Linked DNA regions of Homo sapiens: region 1 is linked to region 2. The links are contacts of gene promoters, found by promoter capture Hi-C in blood cells and fetal thymus (Javierre and others, 2016). All regions are on one chromosome and are shown on one strand. The core of a region is centred on a gene start or on the middle of the fragment in contact, and the rest is flanking DNA. Distances in the headings are between cores, read along the strand shown.

Region 1 (4,153 bases), core at 1,161-3,660, 2.1 Mb after region 2:
CATTGTTGGAGGTTTCTTATTGAGATGGACTATAGTTTTATATTTAAGCAAATTAAATTTTGAAAGTATTATGAACTTTGTTTCTCTTAACAGTAATTTTAGAGAAAAACAGGATAATAATGTATTCATTTAAAAAAGAAAAATATCAAGACACTTCAAAGAAATGTTGACCCTCATTTTTTAATTGACTTGTCTGAGTCTTAAGTTTAGTGTCATACACAATAGGGTAATTAATGAGGGGACTAATGCTTACTGGTGATAAATAGCTGAGTTTCATGGAAACTTGTAAAATTACTTCCCCTGAAGAAGTTAATGAATTAGAATACATGTTAAGTATGGTCATAGTTGACACAAAGTGTACAGACCTAATCCATTCTTTTTCCAATATGTTTTACCAGCTATAGAGAAAAAAAAAATTCAGTCATGGCTCTCAGTACTCCAGGGATTGGATCCTACTTTCCAACCATATCTGAAAAGTGAAGGCTCACCTAATAGCATCAGGTAATTGGCTGCCACGTGCATGTCCTGTGTTGGGTAATATGAGAAAAGTGGTTAGATAATTTCATCCCACCTTCCTCACTTTTCTCAATTCTCCCCAAACTGACACCAAAAAGGTTTAGTTTTCATTTGGAATGTTTGATTCCTTCTCCCACCAACCTCTGTTGTCCTTTTTCCATATTTGTGAGTGAAAATCCTACTGAAAGTTCTTTATATAATTTTACTTTAGAAAGTCATCAATTTACTGATACTCTTTTTTGCTCAATAAGCCTTCACAAATGCTTGAAAAGTCAACAGTGTTGTAAATTATAAATGTTACCTTTTCAGAGGGCCACTTTTGACATATTAGCTTCTTCCATTTTTGCATTGAAAGTTTTAGGCACCCATTTTTTGACTGGTATGTCTATAACCTCATTTTTAATAGGATGGATTTTTAATGTTATGTGGTACTCTTTTGAATATTTTGCTTAACTGAATAACCTTGTAGACCATACAGATGTTAGAAAATTAAAATATAATAATCTTACAAAACAGACAATAATTGCTCTTTCATGGATATTCCAGAAGTGTGGTTAGGATCTTGCATTTCTTTAATGCCATCGTTACGAGTATCTGTTATCACAGAAGCACAGTAATTTTTTTATTGGGATCTAGTATATAATTTCTGTATTAATGTGTTGTCTTTTTGATTACATGCAGTTGGACATTTAAATTGTCGTTAGCCATTTGTGTAACTGTTTAGAACTTGTGCTCAGTTTCCTTACTATTCGTAGGTAAGAAAAATGAAACCAGAAAGAAAGAGACTTGTCTGAAGTCATATTAGTGGGGAGGAGCAGATCTGAACTGGTAATAGATACATTCCAAACTGCTGTGTTTTTAGTATTTGTGGAGACCTGCATAGCAACGTTGGAATCTGGTCGTTTGGACTTTCTCATTATTTGGTTTCTGAATAATCATGTAGCATATTTTCTCAAAGTGAAGGATGAATGTATCATCTAATGTAAGCTTTTTAAAATTGTATTTGCTTGGATTATATTGCCTCTCAATAAAGCTTTTGACTTGGAACTGTGTAGTGTGTGGGAAATAAATGGTGGAGCTTCTTTAGTATGTTGAATTTTAGTAGTTCATTTGCGAAATGCTGTGGTGTTTGGGGATGTTTATTTCCATGCAAGCTTTTCATTTGCTAATGATGTGAATGAAATAGTTTTCTTCCTTTCCTTTCCTACTCTTTGTTATGTGTAGAAGTATTGAATAAATGAGTCCAGAAAAACTTTTTGCTGTTCTTTGATTTTTTGTTAGTAAACATTTACAAAAATTTCATTTGTATGATAAAATAGTTATTTCTAATGGCAGATAATGTACATCCAGAACAGGCTTTTAGTTGCATTTTAATTTTGGGAAACAATGAAATTAAAATATAGATTTATCACAAATCTCCATTTCCAAGTAGAGTATTCAGGTTAGCATTAAGACTTCATTAGTAATATGGTGCATGCTGTTAAAATGTGGTCTTAAAATTATACCTGTGTTAATGGCCAGAAATAAATTGATATTGTTAATGCCTGGGAATATGTTTTGTAATGGAGGGCTTTTTTGATGTGTGAGAATGTAAAGCAGTGCTGTGTAATAGAGCTTTCTACAGTGTTGGGGATGTCCATATTGTGCTGTCTTACTTGAAATGTGGCCAGTGTGACTGAAGACCAAATTTTAAATTTTATTTAATTTTAATTAAATTTAAATTTGTATCTAATATTGAGTAAACAAAACAAAAAGTCTTTCCTATCTACTCATCATTCTTTTAACAGGGGTTGTTGGTATCCAGGCAGATACTTTAATCTTTCTAATCTGCACTAAATCACCTTGTCTTTTATTTTTAGTACCCTTGGTTGTTGCTTATGTGTGATGAAGAAGGTCTTTCTATCCCAGGCCTTTCCTATCACCTCTACCTTCAATTTTTTTAGTTTATTAGTATGCCTTTTACATCTAATTCTTTGTATCTTCTGTGCACTGCCAGAGTGGTAATGTCCCACAGTATGTTTTCTGAGACCAAATTTTAAATTTTATTTAATTTTAATTAAATTTAAATTTGTATCTAATATTGAGTAAATAAAACAAAAAGTCTTTCCTATCTACTCATCATTCTTTTAACAGGGGTTGTTGGTATCCAGGCAGATACTTTAATCTTTCTAATCTGCACTAAATCACCTTGTCTTTTATTTTTAGTACCCTTGGTTGTTGCTTATGTGTGATGAAGAAGGTCTTTCTATCCCAGGCCTTTCCTATCACCTCTACCTTCAATTTTTTTAGTTTATTAGTATGCCTTTTACATCTAATTCTTTGTATCTTCTGTGCACTGCCAGAGTGGTAATGTCCCACAGTATGTTTTCTGGCCGTATTTTCCCCTTTATTGGAGTGTGTCTGTGTTTCTCTTCTCTGTCACACATATACACCCTTCCCTGAAACGTGGAAAAGCAAAGTGATTGATTTTTATTTCCTTAAAGGAGATTTTATATCTGAGGAGATTTATTCATTATCTTAGGAGGGGCAGCAGGTGTGTTTTCAGGGAGCCAAGTGTTAATCTAATAATTGTAATAATGTTTGCTACTGCAACCCAGAGGTACCTATGCATCAATCCTAGGCAGTTAAGCTTCCTTGGAAGCCTGGCTTTTAAATTTTATTTTTGAGAAGATTAGGTTCAAGTCTTTTTCATTCTTTGAGGATTCTATATCGGGTTATATTTTCATTATCTGATTTCTGCTCAGACAAAGACTGACTTTTGAGATTTTTGCTAAGCTTGGACTGAAGAGGTAGGTTAGTTCATCTAATAGATATATATTAATACTAAATACCTACTATGTGCTAGCCATCTTTTTGGGTGCTATAGCAATGAGCAAGACTGGGTCCTCGTTATGATTGGGACTAAAAAGGTCTTAGTTATGGTTGGATTTATTGTGTAGTTAGAGAAATAGACATTAAGTAAATACAGAAATATTGGACAACAATGTGTTTAGAAAAAAGCAAAGCAGCAGGATAGTTTGATAAAGAATGACTAGGCTTGGTAGTGATACAGTAGATTAAATTTGCTAGTTGAAAAAGAGATGGTGACATTTGGCATTCATACATCAAAACAAAAATCTTATATTACCTTGTCTGACATGGCTGCCAAAGGAAATCGCTTTTTGTACCTTTCAGAGATCTATCCCCTTTGAACCTTCTAAAGTTCTCTCTGAACCTGCCAAAAATTTTCATGGAAAGCACATCTCTTGGGTGCCTTCCTGTTGGCGTTTGAGTTATTTTTCCTCTTTGTTCTCCTCTCTCGCTCTGTTTTTTTTTTTTTGTTTTTGTTTTGTTTTCTGAGATGGAGTCTTTTGCTCTGTCGCCCAGGCTGGAGTGCAATGGTGCGATCTCTGCTCACTGCAACCTCCATCTCCCAGGTTCAAGTGATTCTCCTGCCTCAGCCTCCTGAGTAGCTGGGATTACAGGTGCCTGCCACCATGCCTGGCTAATTTTTGTATTTTTAGTAGAGATGGGATTTCATCATGTTGGCCAGGCTGGTCTCAGACTCCTGACCTCAGGATCCGCCTGCCTTGGCCTCCCAAAGTGCTGGGATTACAGGCATGAGCCACCATTCCTGGCCTGTCCTCCTCTCTTAGCA
Region 2 (4,179 bases), core at 1,625-4,124:
ATAGAAAAAGCACAAAAGATCAAAAGCTAATTTCAAGGAGTCCATCCTGAAGGAACCAGGAATGGTGGGTACAGATGCCTGACCTCCCTCCAAGACAATGTGCCAACAGGCCAGTGGAGAACAAGGTGGGATCTGAGAACAATGTAAATTTGGATGTTAAAAGAGAACACAAGCAAAAGCACCACGCACAGTGCCAGGCAGAGACAGGCATTCAAATATTTGCACATTGAATGAATTAATAAACAGACACTTACACAAAGAGAATCTGGGGCCGTGCTTCCAACCATACCATAAGGCACTTTAAGTCCAGGTCATCTTTCTTTGACTTAAAGCTCAGGCTAAAAATCTAACTTCATGAAAAGCTGAGTCTTCCTAATAGTTTCCACTGGCCTCTGTTCTAGCCCAGCTCTGGCAGTGAGGCCCGGTAAAGTTCCTTCCTAAAGACACTGCCTGCAAGTCTCAAATCCGGCACACGGGATCCATGGTGGAGGGATGTTAATGGGAGTGGAGGCAAACAGGCCAAGGGGTGGCAAGGAAAAAAACTATTTCTGATCCACAGAATGGCAAATAACACCATAACGAGTTCTTGAATTAGGTTTAATCCTGGACAGAACCAAATGAAAATAAAAACCTACTTGTATTTATAATTAAATAGACAGAAACAATGAAAAAGTCTCACCAACTTTAGCCACCCCTGATTGAAAGGAGTTTTAACAATTCTTTCATCCATGCTGGCATTCCAAGTTTTCCATTATATCTCAGCCTCTCATTGTTCCAGCACTATTGATGGAATCTCAATGCCAAAAATGGCGCTGGTCATCAAAATTATGATTAGCTGATCTACCCTAGAGTCAGTTTATCAATGTTTCAATGCATACATCAATTCTATTTTTTATTATTTCAATTTAAATCATCTGTGTCTCTATTCCCTCCCTCCCTCCAGAGGCTGCTTTCCCACACCCTTCTTTTCACCTGCATTCTAAGTATTCCCTTGTTCTTTCCTTTAGCTCCCTCTGTTCCAAAAGTAAAAACGAACTGCAGGAACTTATGTAGAAGGCAGGTTTACTACAGATAGCATACCTACATGTTACATATTATATACCATATGTTGGCTAAATACAGCTAGCATATCCTGCTTTAAGTGCTTCTGAGCCTGGGCAGACCCCCGTGTGCTCATGCTGCTGATGTGAACCATCCACCATCATATTTCCTAGGGGTTCAGGTGCCTTCCTCCAGCCTGCTGAAGAACATGACCAAATCTCAGAGCCCTCAAAGCCACAGCTATCGAGAGGTGACTAAGCCCCTGCTTCTGTCAGCCCAGGAAGGCCAATTCAAGAGTCTTATCTACCCCCTAGATTTCCACGACCTGTTCCACTCAAGCTAAAAATTCTGAAACGCACTTTTAGAAACTGTCGTTCCAGAATCCCATTAGCTCTCCTAAAAGGGCTGAACATCAAAAAATTATTCAACCCAAGCCAAGTATCCTTATTTTGGCTGGAATTCTGCCAAATAACCACAAGAGACTGGTGCGGTACAATCGGCATGGAGTGAAGCTTGCCAAATTTGACCGGAGAACGACAAGCCTCCATGAATAAGCTCTCATGAAAAGGTAAACCATTCTTCAGGATGAGGTTTGTCTGCGATTTGAAAAGTCAGATTCAAAGGACTCTTGTTCCTTCCTAAGAGAAGAGGGAACCAAAATTGAAATTTTCGAAACTCCTGGGTATTTACAGTTCACTTTTACCAAGATGTTTTTAAAACTAAAAACTAAAATTTAAAAAAAAAACCCTTGTTCTGAATAATGCAATAATGTCTTCTACATAATGTTTCAGCTATTATTTCTAGAAAGTAATTCTGTTGCCAGTGATCTTGAATGTACTTGGGTACCAAAGAAAAAAGACACCTGTGCCTGGCAGGTCGATACGCTACTAATTTGCCCGAGGTACGAACGAAACAGAAGATGCTGATTTCTGGATAAAACGTTCTGCAGTGCCAGGTAAAAGAGGTCACATGCCCTGAACGGCCGCCGCTCATTTAGAGTGATGCAAAAGCTCCTCAGATATTAATTTTGTTAGAAATTCGGGGAATCAAGCAACCTAAGATCAATTCATTTAGACAGCGGGTGACTGGTACTTTCCAGTTTCCTTTTTTCAACGGACTCAGTGCATCCTAGCCTGATCTCTTATAAAGGGGTAGGCAAACTCGGCACCAGGTGCCCATGCATTTCAGGGAGGTACACACAGGACCTGCAGGGTCACCCATGCACAGCCCCACCCCGAATCTTCTATCCGCCCGAGATGGGGAAGACCCTTCCCCAGAAATCCTGGGCAGCGTTTTAAGTCACCGCCTGGCCAGGCTGAGTTTCCGTCCGCGTCCGCTCAGGACTGCGGGCACAGCGCCTCGTCACGCCCCGCATCTCCCACCTCCCGCCGGCCCCGGCGGCTGTCCCCAGAGCTGCGCCCGCGGCCGGCGACACGCGCCGCAGCGGCGCGCTTATCCGCAGCGGCGCAGCCCGCCCGCCCGCTCACTCACGCGGGAGGCAGCGGCGGCGTCTCCATTGTGGCTCCTCTCGGGCTTCAGAACGCAGGCACCGACCAACACAGCCAGCACCATTCCAGCCGCGGACGCCGGCACTGCCCGCCCGCCGAGCCGCGTTCCATCCGCCCCGGAGGGGGCGCCGCGCTCTCCTCACCGCGCGCCACCACCTGCGGCGGCGGCCCCCGCGGCCATGGCCCGCTCGGCCGGGCGCGCTCCGTCTACTGCGCGGCTCCCGCGCTCGCCCGAGTGCGGGGCGGCGGCGACGGGACCGGCGGGCGCGCGGGCTCGGCCACTTCCGGGTTCGGCCCCGGCCGGCGCCGACGCTGTGACGGGACTGCGATGCGGCCTCCCGCGGCGGCCGAGTACCCCTCCCTCGGCGCCTCCCCTTCCTCCTGCTGCTGCTGCTGCCGCTGCCGCTGCCGCTTCTGCTTCTGGAGGCGGGCGGGCGGGCGCCAGCCGGGTGCGGGGCGGGCGTGCCCAGACGCTGGCCCGCAGGCCGGGACGCGGGCGGCGGCCGCCCACAGCGGGTCTCTGGATCGCCGGGACGGGGGCGCTGGAAAATGGGAGCGGAGGGGGTTCTCCGTGCAGAAAAAGGGCGGCCGAACGCACGGCGTAATAATGCTCGGTATCCACTTGCTGCTCTGCTTCGCGGGCGTGTACACGTTATTCTTTTCATTTGTGCCTGTACCCAGGGAGATGGGAAGGGTAGGCATAACCAACCAGTGTCCTTACAAAGGGTGGCACTGAGGCAAGAAGAAGTGATTTGCCTGTCCAGTGTCCCAGGCAGGAAGCAGGCTCTCCCTCCTCAGTATGCTAGCCATTCCTTGGACAAGTGAAGTGAGCACCTGCTAAGCAAGGTTTTAGTGCTGCGGCTGTGACAGCAAAACCAAGTCTTTCTGCTTGTGGAGCTGTCCATCTAGACGGGGTGACGGAAACAGTAAGTGATGCTTACCATGAAGAAACATAAATGAGGATGAGGAGAGGGAAAGAGATTTTAGAAAGAGTGGTCAGAGAAGGCCTCTCAAAAGGCATGAGTTAAAGAGATGGAATAACAGGGGCTTTGAGTAATGCAAAGAATGCCTAGGGCAGAGGGAAGAGCAGCGTGGAGACTGCTAAGCAAGATCCTGCCTGCCTTGTTGAGGAACGGGAAGGAGAACAGTGCAGCTGGTGGTTCTCCAAGTATGCCCGCTGGAAGCAGTAGCACCTGCGAACTTGTTAGAGATGCGAATTTTCCAGTCCCACTTTAGCCCTACTGAACCAGAAACTCTGGGGGTGGGGCCCAGCAGCGTGTGCTTTAACAAGCTTTCCAGATGATGCTTGCTGGGGCCGCGAGGGTGGGAGACCCTCTAATGAAGCAGAGTGAGGTCAGGAGGACGGCGGCAGGAATGGGTGTGGCGAGGAGTAATCACAGATCACCCAGGCCTTGCAGGCCGTGATAAAGGACTTGGCTTTTACTGAGATTAGAAGCAATTAGAAAGTGGTGAGTAGCTTGATCTGATCATTAAAAGGATGACTTTTCTGGGATTTGTTTGAAAATATCCCACAAAAAGAAGGACAGAGGTCGGGCGCCGTGGCTCACGCCTGTAATCCCAGCACTTTGGGAGGCCGAGGCGGGCCGATCACCTGAGGTCGGGAGTTCGA

What was found. The method cuts DNA at HindIII sites, captures the fragments that hold promoters and counts their contacts. A CHiCAGO score of 5 or more calls a contact.
Region 1: a contact is called between a fragment that was not itself captured here and the fragment with the promoter of KLHL2 in region 2, in 4 of 17 cell types (activated CD4 T cells, total CD4 T cells, total B cells and 1 more). The highest score is 12.1, in activated CD4 T cells.

The regions. Positions count from the first base shown.
Region 1 is chr4:163,154,573-163,158,725 of GRCh38, reverse strand. All of the region lies in intron 2 of NAF1 (nuclear assembly factor 1 ribonucleoprotein), which reads left to right. Among named protein-coding and RNA genes, the nearest start is that of NAF1, 10 kb to the left of the region's middle. The HindIII fragment of the contact is 1,475 bases long and covers 1,673-3,147 here.
Region 2 is chr4:165,206,256-165,210,434 of GRCh38, reverse strand. KLHL2 (kelch like family member 2) reads right to left here and starts at 2,874. Exons shown (of 15, transcript NM_007246.4): 1 at 2,533-2,874. The coding sequence starts at 2,558. RefSeq lists a silencer at 2,573-3,222 and an enhancer at 2,753-3,253. The HindIII fragment of the contact is 2,287 bases long and covers 1,556-3,842 here.